Regions from separate parts of the Homo sapiens genome. Here region 1 is linked to region 2. The links are contacts of gene promoters, found by promoter capture Hi-C in blood cells and fetal thymus (Javierre and others, 2016). All regions are on one chromosome and are shown on one strand. Each heading gives the region's core, a stretch centred on a gene start or on the middle of the fragment in contact. The rest is flanking DNA. Distances are from core to core; before and after follow the strand shown. Region 1 overlaps LOC105371240 (a long non-coding RNA gene). Region 2 holds the start of LONP2 (lon peptidase 2, peroxisomal).

Evidence for each region. The method cuts DNA at HindIII sites, captures the fragments that hold promoters and counts their contacts. A CHiCAGO score of 5 or more calls a contact.
Region 1: a contact is called between a fragment that was not itself captured here and the fragment with the promoter of LONP2 in region 2, in 4 of 17 cell types (endothelial precursors, M2 macrophages, fetal thymus and 1 more). The highest score is 6.0, in endothelial precursors.

What each region holds. Positions count from the first base shown.
Region 1 is chr16:48,630,848-48,638,377 of GRCh38, reverse strand. All of the region lies in intron 1 of LOC105371240 (a long non-coding RNA gene), which reads right to left. Among named protein-coding and RNA genes, the nearest start is that of N4BP1, 24 kb to the right of the region's middle. The HindIII fragment of the contact is 644 bases long and covers 1,455-2,098 here.
Region 2 is chr16:48,239,167-48,246,292 of GRCh38, reverse strand. It overlaps LONP2 (lon peptidase 2, peroxisomal), which reads right to left and starts at 1,993. Exons shown (of 15, transcript NM_031490.5): 1 at 1,672-1,993. The coding sequence starts at 1,904. All of the region lies in intron 1 of ABCC11 (ATP binding cassette subfamily C member 11), which reads left to right. RefSeq lists an enhancer at 1,968-2,057. The HindIII fragment of the contact is 24,694 bases long and covers 1-7,126 here.

The sequences.
Region 1 (7,530 bases), core at 527-3,026, 390 kb before region 2:
CAGGATGAGAGAGGATGGTGAATTCAATATGAGGGCCATGGTTGGAAGAATCAGGCTGCAGGGGATTACAAAGGAAAAGTCAAAGTTTGAAAGTAAAATGAGGAGGAAAAAAGGCAAAAAATAAGAATCAGGTTTAAACACCTGAAGACATTACTCATTCTGATTTACAAGTCACTGGATAAAAAAAAAGAAAAAAAAGAAAAAAAGAGGATATTACTCATGACCAAGAAGTGCTTATGGCCCGGGTACGGTGGCTCACGGCTGTAATCCCAGCACTTTGGAAGGCTGAGGCAGGTGGATCACGAGGTCAGGAGATCGAGACCATCCTGGCTAACACGGTGAAACCCTGTCTCGACTAAAAATACAAAAAATTAGCTGGGCATGGTGGCAGGCGCCTGTAGTCCCAGCTACTCGAGAGGCTGAGGCAGGAGAATGACATGAACCAGGGAGGCGGAGCTTGCAGTGAGCCGAGATCGTGCCACTGCACTCCAGCCTGGGTGAGAGAGCGAGACTCTGTCTCAAAAAAAAAAAAAGTGCTTATATATAAAAAATTGACGAGTCTCTAGAATATCCCAAATCCAATCAAAACAACCACAGTGTTGTCTGGCTGTGAATGGATCTAGAAAGATGTAAACAGGCTGGGCACAGTGGCTTATGCCTATAATCCCAGCACTTTGGGAGGATTGCTTGAGCCCAGGAGTTCCAGACCAGCCTGGGCAACAAGGTGAGACCCTGTATTTATAAAAAAAAAAAAAAATCAAAAAATTATCTGGGCAGGTGCTGTGCACCTGTGTACTCCCAGCTTCTTGGGAGGTTGAGGCAGGAGGACCATTTAATCCCAGGAGGGTCCAGGCTGCAGTGAGCCATGTTTGTGCCACTGCACTCCAGCATGAGTGACAGAGCAAGACCCTTTCTCAATTTTTTTTAAAAGAAAGACATAGACAACTGACAGAACAGTCTTTATCCGAAGGGAATGTGTGTAGGGCAACTCCGAAAGATGGGGCAGAAACACAGCAGTCTATGTGGTCTTGGACACTGTCCAGGGTCAGGGAGCAGAGGGTGTAGGGTGTAAGTGCCTTACCTAGGCACTTACCTTAGAGTACAGCTGGAGGCTCAGGGGATGCCACCGGCCATGAGGATGGTCCACCTGGCTGCACCTCCCAGAAAGATCTGCTGACCAGGAGGAAATGTGCCTATCAAGGAGCACAGGAGTCTGAGCTGGATCTGTTATGTGTCTCGTGGTTTCTCCATCCACCTCCTGGAAGCATGGCTGGCAACATAGTAATTAGAGCTAACCCCAAATATTCCAGTTCTTCTCTCCTCCCAAGAAACTGCTAGGATTGCATTTCCACTCCTTTGAAATTAGTTGAGTCCATGTGACTTGCTTTCCATGTGACTTGCTTTTTTCAATGAAAAGGGAGTGGAATAACACGGGTCTCTTCCGGGGAGAAGCTTGAAGAGACAGTGAGGGATTTGCTATAGTTCTTTTCCTTCCTCTGTAATGGTTGAAATGGAGACTCTATCAGCCCGGATCCCGGGGCACAACGATGAAATGAGTCCCTCTGCTGACCTGTGCTAGACATGTAGAATAAGCAAGAAATACAGTTTTGTTGTGTGAAGCCGCTGAGGTTTGGAGATTATTTGTCACTGGAGCAGAGCCTAGCCCATCCTGACTGATAGTTAGTGTGAGCCAGTCCTACTGAGTCTGCTCATGTCAGTATTGAGAAAAGAAAGGCAGAATTTCTATTTTGTTTGTTTGTTTGTTTGTTTGTTTTGAGACAGAGTCTCATTCTGTCACCCAGGCTGGAGTGCAATGGTGCGATCTCAGCTCACTGCAACCTCCACCTCCTGGGTTCAGGCGATTCTCCAACCTCTGCCTCCCGAGTAGCTGGGACTACAGGCACGTGCCACTACACTTGGCTAATTTTTGTATTTATAGTAGAGACAGGGTTTCACCATGTTGGCCAGGCTGGTCTTGAACTCCTGACCTCAAGTGATAGGCCCGCCTCAGCCTTCCAAAGTGCTGGGATTACAGGCGTGAGCCACCACCCCCAGCCTGAGCCACTGCGCCTGGCAGAATTTCTAAACCAGCAAAGCTTAGAACGAAACCCTGAGACAAAGTGATCGGTCTTAACTGGCTAACTAGCGTCCTTCTTCTTTTCAACTTGCCCCTGTTGCCCTTTGAGATATTTTATTTAGCTTGATTCCAGCAATGAACTGTGGGTCCACCCCCTTATGTTCTATATTACCCCACACAAACCAGCTGTCTATGGGCCATGTCCAAGCTACCGACATGTTCACTTAGCATGCTTAAAATGTTTAATTAGTTAAAACTGGAGGATTTTATATAAAAATCTAGATTCTTGGCTGCTCAGAAGAAATTAGACTATCCAGCCCCCTTGGTCCTATATTATACGACTTGAAGCAAAATCACAGCTACCCACTTCAGATGGGAGCTGAGCACACCAAGATGCCACAGACTCCACTGTTCCCTGTTGCTTAATCTCTGTTGGCCTCATTCACTTCCTGCCTCAACTCTGAGAGCATCTGAGTCTGTGACCTCTGTGTGTGCTTCACCCTTACCCACACACACGCACATACACACGCACATACACACACATACACACACAAACACACACACACACACACACTCTCTCTCTCTCTTCCAGTCACTCCATCCAGCGTGTATTTTCCCAAACATTCTTTTCCACTCCTTTCTGCCTTTACGTTCCATTTCCTCTGCCTGGAATGCCCCTCATCATCTCTACTCACTGAAATAAGCCTGTGCATTCATTCACCAGCACCCAGCTCAAGTGTCACCTTCTGAGGTGGCAGACGCCTGGCTTGGCATCCATCTCCCCTCCCTGCATGGCCTAGTCTTCCCTGGAGACAGAGATGGTCGTGTATGTGAGTCCTGGAAAATGAGATGGAAGCGTAAGTGTGTGGTGGATGTCATGGAAGGCCACCTAAGGGAAACATCTCTCCTGGGAACTGGTGTGCACGCCGCCTGCCTCCTCCCTCAGTCTAGCCTCTGGAACAGAGAACGCACCCTCTCCATTACTCCTGCCTCCTTCAAGACTCTTGTCAAATATCACCTCTCAATGAGATTTCTTCTTTTTATTCTTTTTCTGAACTCTGTTGCCCAGGATGGAGTGCAGTGGCACAATCATAGCTCACTGCAGCCTCAAACTCCTGGGCTCAAATGATCCTTCCTCCTCAGCCTCCTGAATATCTGGGACCACAGGTGTGCACCACCACACCTGGCTAATTTTTTTATTTGTAGAGACGATATCTCACTATGTTGCCCAGGCTGGTTTTGAACTCCTAGGCTCAAGCAATCCTCCTGTCTTGACCACCCAAAGTGCTGGAATTACAGGTGTGAGCCACTCAGCCCAACCTCAATGAGATCTTTTCTAACTGCCCTACTTAAAATATCGACACCCCTCCCTTCCCAACTCTCCCGACCATCCTTTCCCTGCCTTTCCCCCAATGTGGTCTACTTTTTAATATTGTAAAATGTACATATTTAGATTTGGTATTTATTGCCTGCTCCCCCACTGGAATATCAACCTCACGATCACGAGGGCAGGGAATTGTCTTCTTTTTTTTTTTTTTGGTCTCTTTTAACACTGATGTATTCCAAGCACCCAGAAAGAACCCATGATAGACATTAATAAGTATCCTGAATGAATAATACACCTCAGCCATTCCATGCCATTTGAAACCCAGACATTCTTAAGGTTCAGCGTTACTCCCACTTTCCATAAAAACCAAGTCCTATAGGCTGCCTCTGCATATCACCTCTCTGATCAATTTTATCCTCTCTATGTCCCCAAACATTGCCTGCATTTGAGGCTCTGTCATCTCCCTCTAGCTATGACATCAGCATCCTATCTTTCCTTTCTTTTTTTTTTTTTTTTTTTTGAGATGGAGTTTCACTCTTGTTGCACAGGCTGGAATGCAGTGGTGCCATCTCGGCTCACTGCAACCTCCGCCTCCCAGGTTCAAGTAATTCTCCTGCCTCAGCCTCCTGAATAGCTGGGATTACAGGCACACACCACCACGCCCAGCTAATTTTTGTATTTTTAGTAGAGACGGGATCTCACCATGTTGGCCAGGCTGTTCTTGAACTTCTGACCTCAAGCGATCCACCTGCCTCAGCCTCTCAAAGTGCTGTCTCTCTGTTCTCAATCCTTTCCCCTCCAACCCACCCTACAGAGAGAGGACCTCACAGTGTTAATGTCCTGCTTAAAACCTTTCTATGGCAGGCGGGCATGGTGGCTTACACCTGTAGTACCCCGGGAGACTGAGGCAGGAGGATGGCTCAAGCCCAGGAGTTTGAGTTCAGCCTGGGCAACATAGTGAGACCCTGTCTCAGAGAAAACAAATTTATGAGTTTCAAGTCAAGGCTAAATTGGAAAAAATAAAATAAATTTAACCAGCCTCTCTATGGCCCCCATGGCCTTCTCAGGAAATCCAGTCTCCAGTGGTCCTGAAGCCTTAAGTGGTCTGGACCCACTTCCTGCTGTGCCTGCTCATCCTCACACCATCCCCCACAACATTCCTCAGGCCTGCAGAACATCTTACTGCTGGCCACAGAGCTCTCCTGCAGACATTTTCATCTTCTGCTCTTTCTGCTGAAAATGATCTCCCTGCGTCTTTTTTTTTTAAGAGTCTTGCTATGTTGCCTGGGCTGGTCTTGAACACCTGGATTCCAGATATCCTCCCGCCTCTGCCTTCTTGGTAGCTAAGATTACAGGCATGAGCTGTGCTATTCAGGTTCCCCTGCCTCTCATCAGGCTTGTTCCTACCTTCCTTGGGGACGTCCTCCAGGAAGCCTTCCTTAGCTTCACACCAGGCTGGGTGAGCTGCCTCATATCTGTGTTCACATATCAACTTGTGCTGATCTTGGTCGGCTTTTCTGACTCGGCCATGAGATCATGTGAGCCTTGAGGACGGAGTTTTGTCTTATTTTATAATCCCAGTGAGGCTGGGTGCAGTGGTGTGCATCAGTAAACCCAGGTTCTGCAGTGAGCTATGCAGTGAGCTATGATAATATCTGTGAATAGCCACTACACTCTAGGTTGGGCAACAGAGCAAGACCCCATCTTTAGAAAATAAAAACAGGCCAGGCACAGTGGTTCACATCGGTAATCCCAGGACTTTGGGAGGCCAAGGTGGGTGGATCACCTGAGCTCAGGAGTTTGAGACCAGCTTGGCCAGCATGGCAAAACCCCATCTCTACTGAAAATACAAAAATTAGCTTGGCACGGTGGCGCATGCCTGTAACCCCAGCTACTCAGGAGGCTGAGGCTGGAGAATCGCTTGGACCTGGGAGGCGGAGGTTGCAGTGAGCTGAGATCGTGCCACTGCACTCTGGCTTGGGTGACAGAGCAAGACCCCATCTCAGAAAAAAAAAAAAAGTAAATAATAAATAACAAAACAAATTAAATTTATTATTTAAATTTTTTAAATAACAAATGATAATCCCAGTGAGGATACATCATCTAAATAGTAGGCACTTAGTAAATAAGAAGGGAAGGAAAGCAGGAAGAAGGGAAGAGGGAAAGCAGAAAAGAAGAAAGAAAGGTCTCAAATGCTCAGCTCTCTTTCTGGGCACATGGTGGGGCTGCACCTCTCCACCCACTTGAGCTCGTGCACGGCCATGTGATCTGCTTTGGCCCATGAAGTATGAGTGAAAATGACATGTGTCACTTTTAGGCAGAAGCAGACAGGTCAGTCTGTGGTCTCCATCCTCTTTTTACTGCCTGCTGGGTCACAGAAGCACTTGTTGAGATGGAGTCTCTGTCACACAAGGCCCCTGAGTGACTAAGACAAGCAGAGCCCCTGGTGGACCTGCAGTGGACACACAGCATGGGGTGAGAAAGACACTCTGTTCTTTTGAACTGCTGAGAGTTTAGGGTTTATTATTAACCTAGCACAACCACGTCTCTTCTTTTTTTTTTTTTTTTTTGAGATGGAGTTTCACTCTTGTTCCTCAGGCTGGAATGCAGTGGCGTGATCTCAGATCACTACAACCTCCACCTCCCAGGTTCCAGCGATTCTCCTGCCTCAGCCTCCTGAGTAGCTGAGATTACAGGTGCCCACCCAAAGTACTGGGATTATGGGTGTGACCCACCTTGCCCAGCCACGTCTCTTCTTTTCTTTTTTAATTTCAACTTTTGTTTTAGATGCAGAGGATATACATGCAGGTTTGTTACATGGGTATATTGCATGATGCCGAAGTTTAAGGTACGATTGATTCTGTCACAAGCATAGGACCCAATAAGTAGTTTTCCAACCCCTGCAGCTCTCTTCCTCTACCCTCTAGGAGTCCCCAGTGTCTATTGTTTCCATCTTTGTGTCCCAATACCCAATATTTTGCTCCCACTTATAAGTAAGAACATGGGGTATTTGGTTTTCTGTTTCTATGTTAATTCAAGTGCAGTTGGTTTGAGGTATCAGGGAAAATCGCATCTTTTTACCCTTCTATTTGCTAAGAATATCAGACACTACCTTGCCTTTCCCACTGCTATACAATTTCAATTCCAATTGTCTGTTTTCCATAGATTCTTGCAAAGATGCTATAAGGTGAACAGGTGAAATATTATTTATTTATTTATTTTTTTTTTTTTTTGAGACGGAGTCTCGCTCTGTCGCCCAGGCTGGAGTGCAGTGGCGGGATCTCGGCTCACTGCAAGCTCCGCCTCCCGGGTTCACGCCATTCTCCTGCCTCAGCCTCCCAAGTAGCTGGGACTACAGGCGCCCGCCACTACGCCCGGCTAATTTTTTGTATTTTTAGTAGAGACGGGGTTTCACCGTTTTAGCCGGGATGGTCTCGATCTCCTGACCTCGTGATCCGCCCGCCTCGGCCTCCCAAAGTGCTGGGATTACAGGCGTGAGCCACCGCGCCCGGCCCAGGTGAAATATTATTATCCTCCACCTACAAACTAAGAAAAAGAACCTGAATGACTGCCCGGGACTCCCTGGGTAGGAGAGAGGGGAGCTAACACCAGAGCCCAGGTCCCCAGCTCCCCACCCAGGGCTTCACTGCTTGGCTCCAGTCAATAAAATAGCACAGGTCTAAAGAGTCTAAAATCTGGAGGTCCCCACCAGAAAGGGATCCTTCTTTTTTTAAAAAGGAAATATATCCAAAGGTTAGAATCAGGCCAGGCGCGGTGGCTCACACCTGTAATCTCAACACTTTGGGAGGCCAAGGCAGGTTGATCACTTGAGGTCAGGAGTTCGAGACTTGCCTGGCCAACATGGTGAATCCCCCATCTCTACTAAAAATACAAAAATTAGCGGGGAATGGTGGCAAGTGCCTGTAATCCCAGTTACTCGGTAGGCTGAGGCAAGAGAATCGCTTGAACTTGGGAAGCAGAGGTTGCAGTGAGCCGAGATTGCACCACTGCACTCCAGCCTGGGTGACAGAGTGAGACCCCTTCTCAAAAAAAAAGAAAAAAAGGGTTGGAATCGTGGACTTTAAAGCCCGACTGCCCAAGCTGGCCCCAGCTCCAGCCCTCACTA
Region 2 (7,126 bases), core at 744-3,243:
ACTGAAACTTGGAATGTGACCAATTCCACTCAGGCAATAACCAAAGCAGGTCAGATGGGAGCCAAAATATTTTCCATGCTTGAGAAAATCAAGGCTTTTACAATATAAATGAATACTGGGCTGCTGTGGAAGGTTTGTTGGTCTTTGTTGCTTTGTTTTGCTTTCTTTTAACGGGGGTGGGGGGAGGTACCAGTCTCCTTTGAGAATCTGAAGAAAGCAAAGGATTCTCCTAAAAAAATGTACATAGTCACAAGATTTTGAGGAAAAATAAGACATGTCCAACCCTCCGGAAATCCATTCAGAGTCAGGAACCCCTAATTTAAAAATAAGGGATAACTGCCAGGAAAGGAGAAGCTCTAAACTGAAAACACAACACCTCCAGTAGAGTTAGGAATAGGAGGCGGGTGCTTGGCAGGTGAGTTTGAAGATACTTGTTGAGAGCATACGATATACCAGCATTGTCCAATAAAAATATAATGTGGACCACATATAAAATTTTAGTGGCCACATTATAAAGTAAAAACAGCAGAAATCTTAACATTTTATTAACCCCAAGTACTCAAAATATTACCTTTCCAACATTTAATCCATATAAAATGTATTAATCAAAAAGTTTTTTCAAAATCTGGCGTGTATTGTACACTTACAGCACATTTAGGGTGACCAACCTCCTGGTTTCCCTGGGACGGAGGGGCTAAAACATAGGACTTTCAATGCTAAAACAGACAATCGCAGCAAACCAGGACAACTGGCAATTCTATCATCTCAATTTGACGAGCCACATGCACTACACAGTACTGGACAGCAAAGTCATCCATCATGCATGGTGCAAAGTGGAATATACACATTATTCAATTTATTCTTCATAACTTGCCTAAGAGATGGATGCTGTCAGTTTCCAAATTGCAGAATAAAAGAAATAGAGGTTAAAGCTCTCACCCAAAGTCACACCAATAGGGCGAGGGTACTGGGCAATATAGTAGTAAGCCTGGGGCCTAAGAAATGTTATGAGTGAAGGAGCAGAGGTGAGAAGCTAGGAAAGTTCCAGAAAGGGGGACCAGCGAAAATGTGAGCAGTAAAGGCCCTTTACAAAGGGAAACAGAAGGATTAGGGGGAGAAGGAGAAGGGTGGCAGGGAGTATAGAAGAAAGGCACCCACAAATAGTGCAGTTTAGGAATGAAACAGGAAAAGTTAAAACTCACGGAGCAGAGAATGCCTCAGCGGACAAAAATGATGGGTGACAGAAAAGGGGAGGCGGATAGGAGTAAAGGGCAGTGGGGAGAAAGGTGAAAAGCGAAGGCAAGTGAAGGCAGAGATCACCGGGGAGAAAGAAAGGGCCTGGAAAGTTAAAAGCACTGGCCTAGGAGGCTGAAGACCGAGGGCGAGGAATTGCGGAGAGGGGGAAGAGGATTCAAATTAAATTATCCAGAACGGTAGGGAACTGCGTAGTTTCACCAGGTGTCAGGCACTACTTCATGAACGATCTCATTCATGGTCATGGGGCAGGTATCTGACATCCCCATTTTGCAAGTGATAGCACCAGAGAGGCGGAACCGAGCCGCGAAGGCCGCCCCGAACTGAGCCTCGCGCTCAAGGCAGGCCGTGGCCTGGGCCCAGGTCCCCGGAGGAGGCCGCGCCGCCCGCCGCCGCCGCGGGGGCAGCCAGGCCTACCTGTGCAGCGGCGGCAGGTCCTGCGCGTCGCTGGCGGGGTCAGGCGTGTTGGGGATGACGCCCAGGATGGTGCTTTGCAGCGACGTGCCCTTCAGAAGGCGGCTCCGCACCAGCTGCAGGTTGCGGGCCGAGTCCACGCTGGTGCGCATGGTGGAGCCGGGCAGCAGGACGCCCTCGTGGGTGAGCAGCAGCGGGAGGCGACTGGGGATCTGGATGGGGCTCACTGATGACATGCTGGCAGCCTTTCGCACTGGGGGCTGTCAAAAAGAGCCAGACAGACAGCTGCCCCCGGCCTGCCCCGCAGTCACCAAACCTCAGACCCGCCTCCACGCCTCCGCTTCCGGCTACGCGCTACGGTCCGTCCCCGGGCCCAAAAGCCATGGCTTCGCGCTGCTCTCTAGGAGAGCCTCCCGGTAAGACTTGAGCGTCCTACCTATGCGGAAAGACGTGCACTCAAGCGTGCAGCGACCTTCGCCTCACTTACAGAGTATATTTGGAAGGATGATCTTATTTGAATTGTATATACTTGAAGTGTTTTTAACGTTTTCTTCGATTTTTTACATATACTTGAAGTGTTTTTAACTTTTGATTCGAACTAATTATTTATTTATTTATTTATTTATTTATTCTGAGACAGATTCTCGCTCTGTCGCGGAGGCTGGAGTGCAATGGCGCGATACCCACGGCTTGCAGCCTCTGCCTCCCGGGTTCAAGCGATTCTCCTGCCTCAGCCTCCCGAGTAGCTGGGATTACAGATGCCCGCCACCACACCCAGCTAATTGTTGTATTTTTAGTAGGGAGGGGATTTCACCATGTTGGCCAGGCTGGTCTTTAACTCCTGACCTCAAGCGATCCGTCCACCTCGGCCTCCCAAAGTGCTGGGATTACAGGCGTGAGCCAACGTGCCCGGCCCGAATTGATTTTAGATGTACAAAACTACAGCAGAGTTCCTATATACCTTTCACCCAGTTTCGTCTGTTATCATCTTACATAATCATAGTTCAATGATCAAAACCAGGAAATTAACATTATTATCGTTTAACCTATAGGCCTTACCCAAATTTTGCCAGTTTTCCCACTAATGTCCTTCATTGGATCTGGTCCAGGATCCAATATCCAGGATCCTGTTGTGAAATCTCCTAGGTGTTTTGTTATGAAATCTCCTAGGTGTTCTCTAATCTGTGGCAAGTCCTCAATTTTTTTTTTTTTTTTTTTTTTTTGAGACGGAGTCTCGCTCTGTCACCCAGGCTGGAGTGTAGTGGCGAGATCTCGGCTCACTGCAAGCTCCGCCTCCCGGGTTCATGCCATTCTCCTGCTTCAGCCTCCCGAGTAGCTGGGGACTACAGGCACCCGCAACCACGCCCGGCTAATTTTTTGTATTTTTAGTAGAGACGGGGTTTCGCCATGTTAGCCAGGATGGTCTCAATCTCCTGACCTCGTGATCTGCCCGCCTTGGCCTCCCAAAAGTGCTGGGATTACAGGCCTGAGCCACTGCGCCCGTCCAATTTTTTTTTTTTTTACAACCTTGATACTTTTATTTTTTTTCTGTTTTTAATTTAATTTTATTTTTTATTATAGTTTAAGTTCTAGGGTACATGTGCACAACGTACAGGTTTGTTACATATGTATACATGTGCCATGTTGGTTTGCTGCACTCACTAACTCGTCATTTACATTAGGTATATCTCCTAATGGTATCCCTTCCCCCCCACTCCCCACCACCCAACGACAGGCCCCTGAGTGTGATGTTCCCCACCCTGTGTCCAAGTGTTCTCATTGTTCAGTTGCCACCTATGAGTGAGAACTTGCAGTGTTTTGTTTTCGGTCTTTGCGATAGTTTGCTCAGAATGATGGTTTCCAGCATCATCCATGTCCCTACAAAGGACATGAACTCATCCTTTTTTATGGCTGCATAGTATTCCATGGTGTATATGTGCCACATTTTCTTAATCCAGTCTATCATTGATGGACATTTGGGTTGGTTCCAAGTCTTTGCTATTGCGAATAGTGCCGCAGTAAGCATACGTGTGTGTGTGTCTTTATAGCAGCATGATTTATAATCCTTTGGGTATATACCCAGCAATGGGATGGCTGGGTCAAATGGTATTTCTAGTTCCAGATCCTTGAGGAATTGCCACACTGTCTTCCACAATGGTTGAACTAGTTTACAGTCCCACCAACAGTGTAAAAGTGTTCCTATTTCTCCACATCCTCTCCAGCACCTGTTGTTTCCTGACTTTTTAATGATTGCCATTCTAACTGGTGTGAGATGGTATCTCATTGTGGTTTTGATTTGCATTTCTCTGATGGCCACTGATGATGAGCATTTTTTCATGTGTCTGTTGGCTGCATAAATGTCTTCTTTTGAGAAGTGTCTGTTCATATCCTTTGCCCACTTTTAGATGGGGTTGTTTGATTTTTTCTTGTAAACTTGTTTAAGTTCTTTGTAGATTCTGGATATTAGCCCTTTGTCAGATGGGTAGATTGTAAAAATTTTCTTCCATTCTGTAGGTTGCCTGTTCACTCTGATGGTGGTTTATTTTGCTGTGCAGAAGCTCTTTAGTTTAATTAGATCCCATTTGTCAATTTTGGCTTTTGTTGCCATTGCTTTTGGTGTTTTAGTCATGAAGTCCTTGCCCATGCTTATGTCCTGAATGATATTGCCTAGGTTTTCTTCTAGGAATTTTATGGTTTTAGGTCTAACATTTAAGTCTTTAATCCATCTTGAATTAATTTTTGTATAAGGTATAAGGAAGGGATCCAGTTTCAGCTTTCTACATATGGCTAGCCAGTTTTCCCAGCACCATTTATTAAATAGGGAATCCTTTCCCCATTTCTTGTTTTTGTCAGGTTTGTCAGAGATCAGATGGTTGTAGATGTGTGGTATTATTTCTGAGGGCTCTGTTCTGTTCCATTGGTCTATATCTCTGTTTTGGTACCAGTACCATGCTGTTTTGGTTACCATAGCCTTGTAGTATAGTTTGAAGTCAGGTAGCATGTTGCCTCCAGCTTTGTTCTTTTGGCTTACGATTGTCTTGGCAATGCCGGCTCTTTTTTGGTTCTATATGAGCTTTAAAGTAGTTTTTTCCAATTCTGTGAAGAAAGTCATTGGTAGCTTGATGGGGATGGCATTGAATCTATAAATTACCTTGGGCAGTACAGCCATTTTCACGATATTGATTCTTCCTATCCATGAGCATGGAATGTTCTTCCATTTGTTTGTGTCCTCTTTTATTTCGTTGAGCAGTGGGAAAACCTTGATACTTTTGAAGGATATCAGTCAGTTATTTTGTAGAAGTTCATTCAATTGGAGTTTATCTACTGTTTCTCACGATTAGATCAATGATATGCATTTTGGGGCCAAATACCATGAAAGAGATGTTGTGGGCTGGACGCAGTGGCTCACACCTGCAATCCCGGCACTTTGGGAGGCCGAGATGGGTGGATCATCTGAGGTCAGGAGTTCGAGACCAGACTGGCTAACATGGTGAAATCCCGTTTCTATTAAAAATACAGAAAATTAGCCAGGTGTGGTGGTGCGTGCCTGTAATCCCAGCTACTTGGGAGGCTGAGGCAGGATAATTGCTTAAACCCAGGAGGCAGAGGTTGCAGTGAGCTGAGATCAGGCCATTGCACTCTGGCTTGGGCAACAAGAGAGAAACTCTGTCTCAAAAAATAAAAAAAAAAGTGATGCTGTGGCCATGTGATATATGATGGTGAAATGTCTTATTAATGACGATTTGAATCTTGACTACTTGGTGAAGGTGGTATCTGCCAGATTTTTTCACTGTAAGTTACTATTTTTCTCTTTGTAATTAGTAAGTATTATGTAAGGAGATAATTTCATATTTATTTATTTATTTATTTTTCCTTCAACTTTTATTAGGTTGGTGCAAAAGTAATGGCAAGAAACCGCAATTACTTTTGCACCAACCTAATATTTTAAGTTCTGGGGTACATGTGCAGATGTGCAGGTTTGTTACATAGGTAAACATGTGCCGTGGTGGTTTGCTGCACAGATCAACCCATAATCTAGGTATTAAGCCCAGCATCCATTAGCTTTTCTTCCTGATGCTCTGTCTCCCCCTACCCCTGCCCCCATCAGGCCACATTGTGTTGTTCCCCCGCCATGTGACCATGTGTTCTCATCCTTCAGCTTCCACTTATAAGTGAGAACATGCAGTGTTTGGGTTTCTGATCCTGTGTTAGTTTGCTGAGGGTAACAGCTTCCAGCTCCATCCATGTCCCTGCAATGGACGTAATCTCATTCCTTTTCATGGCTGCATAGTATTCCATGGTGTGCATGTACCATATTTTCTTTATCCAGTCTATTGTTGATGGGCATTTAGGTTGATTCCATGTCTTTGTTATTGTGACTAGTGCTGCAGTGAACATACGTGTGCATGTACCTTTAAAATAAAGTGATTTATATTCCTTTGGGTATGTACCCAGTAATGGGATTGCTGGGTCAAATGGTATTTCTGCCTCTAGATCTTTGAGGAATTGCCAGACTGTCTTCCGCAATGGTCAAACTAATTTACACTCTCACCAACAGTGTAAAAGTATTCCTTTTTCTCTGCAACCTCGCCAGCATCTATTGTTTCTTGACTTTTTAATAATTGCCATTCTGACTGGTGTAAGATGGCATCTCACTGTGGTTTTGATTTGCATTTCTCTAATGATCAGTGATGTTGAGCTTTTTTTCATGTTTGTTGGCCACATGAATATCTTCTTTTGAGAAGTGTCTGTTCATGTCCTTTGCCCACTGTTTAATGGGGTTGTTTGTTTTTAAATTTGTTTGTAAATTTGTTTAAGTTCCTTCTAGACTCTGGATATTAGACCTTTGTCAGATTGCAAAATTTTTCTTCCATTCTGTAGGTTGTCTGTTCACTCTGCTGGTAGTTTCTTTTGCTGTGCAGAAGCTCTTTAGCTTAATTAGATCCCATTTGTCAATTTTTGTTTTTGTTGCAATTGCTTTTGTTGTTTTCATCATGAAATCTTGCCGGTGCCTATATCCTGAATGGTATTACCTAGATTTTTTTTTTTTTTTTTTTTTTTTTGTGACACAGTCTCGCTCTGTTGCCTAGGCTAGAGTGCAGTGGCACGATCTCAGCTCACTGCAAGCTCCGCCTCCTGGGTTCACGCCATTCTCCTGCCTCAGCCTCCCGAGTAGCTGGGACTACAGGCATCTGCCACCACACCTGGCTAATTTTTTGTATTTTTGGTAGAGACGGGGTTTCACTGTGTTAGCCAGGATGGTCTTGATCTCCTGACCTCGTGATCCGCCCGCCTCAGCCTCCCAAAGTCCTGGGATTACAGGCGTGAGCCACCTCGCCCAGCCCTTCTAGAGTTTTTATAGTTTTGGGTTTTACATTTAATCCATCTTGAGTTAATTTTTGTATAAGGTGTAAGGAAGGGGTCCAGTTTCAATTTTCTGCATATGGCTAACCAGTTC